2 separate regions of the Homo sapiens genome follow, and region 2 is linked to region 1. The links are contacts of gene promoters, found by promoter capture Hi-C in blood cells and fetal thymus (Javierre and others, 2016). All regions are on one chromosome and are shown on one strand. The core of a region is centred on a gene start or on the middle of the fragment in contact, and the rest is flanking DNA. Distances in the headings are between cores, read along the strand shown.

Region 1 (3,303 bases), core at 648-3,147:
GAGCTGAGGGAGGTGTTAGATACATTTTCAAGTTGGGTTTACCCCACAGCAAAATATTTTGATGCTGTTAATATGTGTGCTATTCATTAGAAGAGATATCACTTCTTGAATTGCTTCCCAGTGAGTATTTGAGTACCAATTAAATACTTGATAGTTGAAGTAACCAGGCATATATTGTGTATTAAACTATCTTAATGACCCACATAATCTGCTATGCAATAAATTTGTGGGAGAAAAGTATTGATAGATGGTTTGGATTGAGTAGTCATAGATATTTACACTGAGATTTAAATAACAGAAGTAGTGAGCCTTTTGGAAATACAGGAAGACCTTTCAAGGAGGGGTAAGTGCAAAGACATCAAAGTATGAATGAGATTGGCCTGCTAGAGGACCAGAAAGAAGGCCATGTGAGGTTGGAGTGGAGGAGTCTGGGGCAGAGTGGTAGAACATGAGGTGGAGAGGGGTGAAGATCATATAATGCTTTGCAAGTCAGGATGAGGAATCTAGATTCAGTGCTTAGTAAGATTAGGAGTCATTAGTGTATTTTAAGGGGAAAAATACTCTGGTTGGTGGTGAACTATGGAGTAGAGGAAGGCAAGAGAAGATAGGGTGGGGATTAAGTGGTAGACATTAAGTTGACTGGGGCAGCTGTCTAGGACTGGGTTGTAGTAATGGGGATGGAGAAGAGTGGATGAATTTAGGAACAGTTGAGGGAAAGATGGTGTGGTGAAGGAAGCCAGGTGAGCAAGCAGGTCTAAGCGGGAAAGCATTGCTTTTCCTACAGGAATTTTCCTGTGCATTCAGGCTGTAAGGATCTCAACTTTTAAAAAAGCCACATTGTTCTCCCAAGTTGTTGGGGAGCTGGTTCACCATTGACTTCTGATCTCTGGAGATATTTTCATAATCATGGAGCTGTCTTTCTTTTCACTCTTTTACTCTCTTTCTAGACAGGCTTCTTGGATACCAAGGGTTGGTGGTGGGTGGGGGGAGGTTCTGGGGATGGTTAAATTTGCCTGGGCAGCCTCAAAGTTCAAAAAGGAGGGACAGGGAAGCTTAGCTAAGAACCAGGAGTTTGACATACTTAATCTCTCATTTCATCCTACTGATGACTTTGTGAGGTATATCTTTTTAATCCTAGATCTACAAAAGAGAAAGCTGAGGCTTGGAGAGGTTCTTCATTTTGTTCAAAGTCATACAACTTTTACGTGGTGTAGCCAGGATGGGAACCAGAGCCTGGCTCTCTGCACTTCCAACACCACTGCTGAATCCGGGTTTGTCTGTTTTCCCTCTCTTCTTTTAACTATTGTCACACAGATTCCATCATAGAACCCATCACGTGGAGGGCCACTATTTCTCTTTCTTTTGTATAGTATGTTTGCTTCCCCTACCCCACAGAGTAAGGTGCTCAGCAAATGTGGCTGTCTGGAGGCAACACCCCCTTCTCACCGCCACACTTGGGGTTGGGGTGCGAGGCAAGGCAGGGCTGGCGAGGTGGATGTTGCAGCTGTCACCACTGCTAGGTGTTGGGAAACGACTCTCCTGCCTGTGCATTGACCCGAAGGCATTTTCCATTTCCTAGGCCCCTCCCGCTTCCCGTCCCTCACCTCTAGCCCCTCGGCTTCAGCTCAGGCCCCTCGGGGAGCATCCCTTGCCGTGAGACTGACAGCCTTTGGGGGCGCAGGGTCCTGTTCTCTGCGCTCTAGCCCATCTGTGCGCAGAGCCTCGTTCCCAGGCGCCTGGAACCCGGCGGGCATTGACGTCAAGCGCCGGCGGAGCGCTGCCTACAGACGGTTGACCCGGGCCCTCCTCCACACCCCCTTCCTTCTTCGCCTCCTCCCTCTTTCCTGCACGGGGGCTCGGGCTCACTATAAAAGGTGGGAGCGCGTGGTGCCCCAGCAACGACGAGTTTCAGAACGATGGAGAGCTCCCGCGTGAGGCTGCTGCCCCTCCTGGGCGCCGCCCTGCTGCTGATGCTACCTCTGTTGGGTACCCGTGCCCAGGAGGACGCCGAGCTCCAGCCCCGAGCCCTGGACATCTACTCTGCCGTGGATGATGCCTCCCACGAGAAGGAGCTGGTCGGTATTCCCCTCGCTCTCGACCCCCTTGAGCTGTCGCCTTGTCTCTTCTCTTGCACGCCTCCCTCCTCCCCCCACCCCCACTCCTATTCCCAGAGTCAGGGCGCGGGGAGCTGAGCGCAACGCCCAGGCACCCACTGCCATCCGAAGAGCGTCTCGAGCTCACGGGCTCCTGGCAGTCTGTTGAGCGAATCCCTCATCCCGGCCCCTCTGAGCAACAGGGACCCCAGCGGCTCAGAGACCCGCGGTCAGTACCTGGGACAGCGTCCGCTAAGTTTCCACCCCTCGACCATTCCCTGTGTCCGCGGAGTCCCACCGCAGAGTGCGTGTGGGTCCGGGGCTCCTTATAACTAGGGCTGGAAGTGCGCACCTGGGCTGGGCTCGCAGCCAAGGCGGCAACTTCAGGCTCCGAAGCGGTGTGTTGCAGATCGAAGCGCTGCAAGAAGTCTTGAAGAAGCTCAAGAGTAAACGTGTTCCCATCTATGAGAAGAAGTATGGCCAAGTCCCCATGGTAAGGTTTGTGGTCACTCCCTTCCCGTGTTTTTCCAAGAGAAAGTACACCGCCTTGAATCGTACACACAGTCTTCTCCGTAGGATGTGGCTAAATAACTTAGGTAATGGGCTTGCAGGATTCTGTGGGCTCCTTCTTCCTTCCCGGGTGAGGAAATGGGAAAGCAGGAACAGGGGTTGTAAGAAAGTGTAAGTCTATTGTTTGTTGCTCAGGAAAAAGGTCTGATTTTTTTCCCCTCTGAGAGGGCAAGAAAAGGAGCCAGGAAATGTGATGCTCCCCTTCCCACGCCCCCCAACCCTCGCCACTTAAAGGTGGAAGAAACTAGGATAAAACTAATAATGTAAGTTTCTTTAAAAAATGTACTCTCACTGAGGTTATAAGCACAAGGCTCCCTGTTTCAGATCTGACTGTACGTAGACCTCTTGTGATGGTGATGGGGTCCAATTGCCCCTTTCAAGAGACAGAAATTGCGTTGACTGTGAGACTTGCCTGTTGGGAACCTGGGTTTGTTCATACTCGATGACCACACATTTTGTTGTTTCAGTGTGACGCCGGTGAGCAGTGTGCAGTGAGGAAAGGGGCAAGGATCGGGAAGCTGTGTGACTGTCCCCGAGGAACCTCCTGCAATTCCTTCCTCCTGAAGTGCTTATGAAGGGGCGTCCATTCTCCTCCATACATCCCCATCCCTCTACTTTCCCCAGAGGACCACACCTTCCT
Region 2 (3,137 bases), core at 573-3,072, 560 kb after region 1:
TTCTCATTGCCCTGTAGCTATAATTCCTGGTACCTTAATTTGACTTTACAATTATAAAAATAGGCAGGAGAAATATTTTTCAATAAAAGGGGTTTATACTGTAGAAAAAAAAGAACTTGGATACATATTCTTATGTGAAATTTTAGGAGTTTAAGGTTTAATTTACAAATGGTTCTGTAGCTATTAGAACAGATTTACTTTAGCCTTCTCCTTTTAAATCTCATGTATATACAAGGCATCAAAAACATGTGGTTTGTGGGCCTTGCAGGAAAAAGGCAAGTACATATGTATAAAAATTAGTTACCTAGAGGATAAATAAGAGTGGATACCCAACTTCTCATACCACAAAATTTACTAAATATATTCACAAACAAGATAGTAAATGAAGTCTGTCACCTAAATCCAGAAGAGAATAAGAGATCTTCTACCCTTTCTGTTGTTTACTTTTACATCTATTAGTTTTTCTCTTGATATTCATAGTTAAGGCGGCTGGAACTTCAATTTTAAAGTGAATAAAATTCTGCGTGAGAAACTAAACAAAAAGCCAGAGCTACATGCTTTCAAAGTCTGAGGCATCTGGTGATAAAATCTTATCAGTGACATTAAGAAACATTATGTTTTAGCTATGGGAAGTGCCTTGGGAGGCATCCAAGATGATCTGCTCATCTAGAAAGCTGATGTCCAGAGAGTTCACTAACTAGTTCAAAGCTACAGATCAAAGTGGGGACTAAACTGGTCCTAAGACCCCAGTCACCTCTTTCTTCCCATCCTGACTCCTTCAGGGTCTTTTTAGTACCTCCCCCACAAGATAATACATTTTCATTGTTGAATTTCTTTTTATGTTAATTTTTTTCTAGGTTTAATTAATTCTATGTCACACTGTTAGGAGGTTTCAAAATGTTCATTGAGTCTGTATCTTTTGGTATATTACTGAAACTGCTTAGGAAAAAAAACTGACACAAAGAGATACACTGGGCTAGCTGATGAGCTTCTGAACTTGAAGTCAGGCCTCATCCACAGCTGGAGCTTGGACTTGTCACATGGCTCCAAGGGACTCACTTAGTCTATCCAGGTTGCAATTTCAGATTCCGGAAGTTGGCAGGACTTCAGAGGTCATCTGGTCTAAAATTTTCCAACTAGTGCCAATACACCAGGAAGACCCAATGGGTATGTTTTGGCAATTGTTCTTTCTCCAAAGGTCTGTGGCCAGTTCCTGTCAAACAGTCCAAGTATGGTCAAGTAGGCAAGATATGATCCAGCAAGCTTAGAAAGAAATGTGTACGTACAAAAAAAAAAGGCAAAAGAAAAACTCACCCTCTTGCTGCCTTCTAAATCTGCTTCCAATTCAATACTTCTATCATGTACAAGCCACTTTCCCACTGAGGTTCAATTTTCAGTTCATTTTTGACTCTCCTTGTTTTCTGTCTCTACATTCAACCTGCCATTAATCCTGCTGATCCAATTTTTTCCCTCCTATGTACATTTCTCTCTTTATTTCCACTGTCTACTACCACAGGACAGGTCTTTTTTCTCTATATGCATAGACAATTTCCTTATAACATTTACCAATTTTAATAAAAAATTTACCCTGTTATAAATCTTTCTGAAATACTTTTATTATGATATATACTTCTTAAGAATCTGCAGATGACTATCTTGAGGATCTTTTAAAAAATATTTTTTCAGGCTAGGTGTGGTGGCTCATGCCTATAATCCCAGCACTTTGGGAGGCCGAGGCAGGTGGATTGCTTGAGTCCAGGAGTTCAAGACCAGCCTGGGCAACATTGTGAGACCCCATCTCTAAAAAAAAAAAAAAAAACACCACCAAAAAGGCCAGGCATGGTGGCATACGCCTAAAGTCCTAGCTACCTGGGAGGCTGAGGTAGGACAATTGCCTGAGCCTGGGAAGTTGAGGGTACAGTGAGCTAAGATCCTGCCACTGCATGCCAGCCTGGGCAACAGAGTGAGACCCTGTCTTTAAATTAAAAAAAAAAAAAAAATTTGGTTAATTTCCTTCTGTGTGTGTGTGTGAGAGAGAGAGATGGAAAAAGAGAAGGGGGGAGGGAAGGGAAGGGAAGAAATGAAAAATATGTATTTTTTGAATAAGTAATATACACCCATGATATAAAATTCAAAAGTTACAAGAGACAATTCAATGAGAAGTCATCCAGGTTTCTTCCCTAAAAGAAACCAATGTTACCAGTTTTTGTGTGTATCATTCCAGAGATATTTTATGTACACACATACATATATACACATAAGCATCAAAGCACATGTATACATATTACACATAAACCACAGTGGCTACATCACACACTAAGTCCTACTCTTGTTTTTTTCACTTAATACATTTCACAATTTATTCAATAGGAAATACAAATAAAGCTTCCTCATTCTTTTCAATCACTGCACAGTATTCCACTGTACAGCTGTAGAATAATTAAACAGGCTTCTATTGATGGACGTAATCTTTTACTTTTTGCAATGGACATTTTTGGCATGAATATGAGTGTATCAGGAGGTTAAATTCCTAGAGGTGGAATTATTGGGCCAGAGGGTATTGTACTTATAATTTTGACAGATGCTGCCAAAGTTCTATCTATACAAGTTGTACCGATTTATATATCCACTAGCAATGTATGATAATGACAGATTTTGAACCCTCCCTTCTCTCCTGCCAACATTCTATTCCCTCTCTAATCTGCCTTCCTTATTTCTCATTATTCCCCAACAAACCCTGATCTCTCTGGTTAAGGCAGTTTCCATAAAGCTAGTTCTCACTTCCTCCTTCTAACTCCAGCTGTACGATTTGTTCCATCTTGAACACTTGCTCCTGTTTCCTCTACTCATCTAACCTTCAAGGCTATCTTAAGTTCTACCTCTTTTATAAATGTTTGCTGATAACAACATCAATCCTTCTTCTAGCCTGCTCAAAACATGTTTTCTCTAAAACTTACATTTTGTTACATAAATTCAGTAAATTTATCTACTTATCATATCCTGGATTTGTGTTGATTTTGAATTGTTTCACGTATCTAATGATCTTCAACCATCTAATAATCTTTTTTTGGGAGGGGGACAGGGTCTTGCTCTAGTACTCAGGCTGGAGTGCAGTGGCTCGATCATAGCTCATTGTA

Evidence for each region. The method cuts DNA at HindIII sites, captures the fragments that hold promoters and counts their contacts. A CHiCAGO score of 5 or more calls a contact.
Region 2: a fragment that was not itself captured here is called in contact with the fragment with the promoter of CARTPT in region 1 in 1 of 17 cell types (M1 macrophages); the score reaches 5.0 in M1 macrophages.

Annotation. Positions count from the first base shown.
Region 1 is chr5:71,717,378-71,720,680 of GRCh38, forward strand. It overlaps CARTPT (CART prepropeptide), which reads left to right and starts at 1,898. Exons shown (of 3, transcript NM_004291.4): 1 at 1,898-2,075; 2 at 2,503-2,586; 3 at 3,131-3,303. The coding sequence starts at 1,917. The coding sequence ends at 3,238. RefSeq lists an enhancer at 2,036-2,922. The HindIII fragment of the contact is 2,457 bases long and covers 1,051-3,303 here.
Region 2 is chr5:72,282,446-72,285,582 of GRCh38, forward strand. All of the region lies in intron 4 of MRPS27 (mitochondrial ribosomal protein S27), which reads right to left. It overlaps LOC107986422 (a long non-coding RNA gene), which reads right to left. Exons shown (of 2, transcript XR_001742742.2): 2 at 1-1,213. Among named protein-coding and RNA genes, the nearest start is that of MRPS27, 36 kb to the right of the region's middle. The HindIII fragment of the contact is 1,122 bases long and covers 1,262-2,383 here.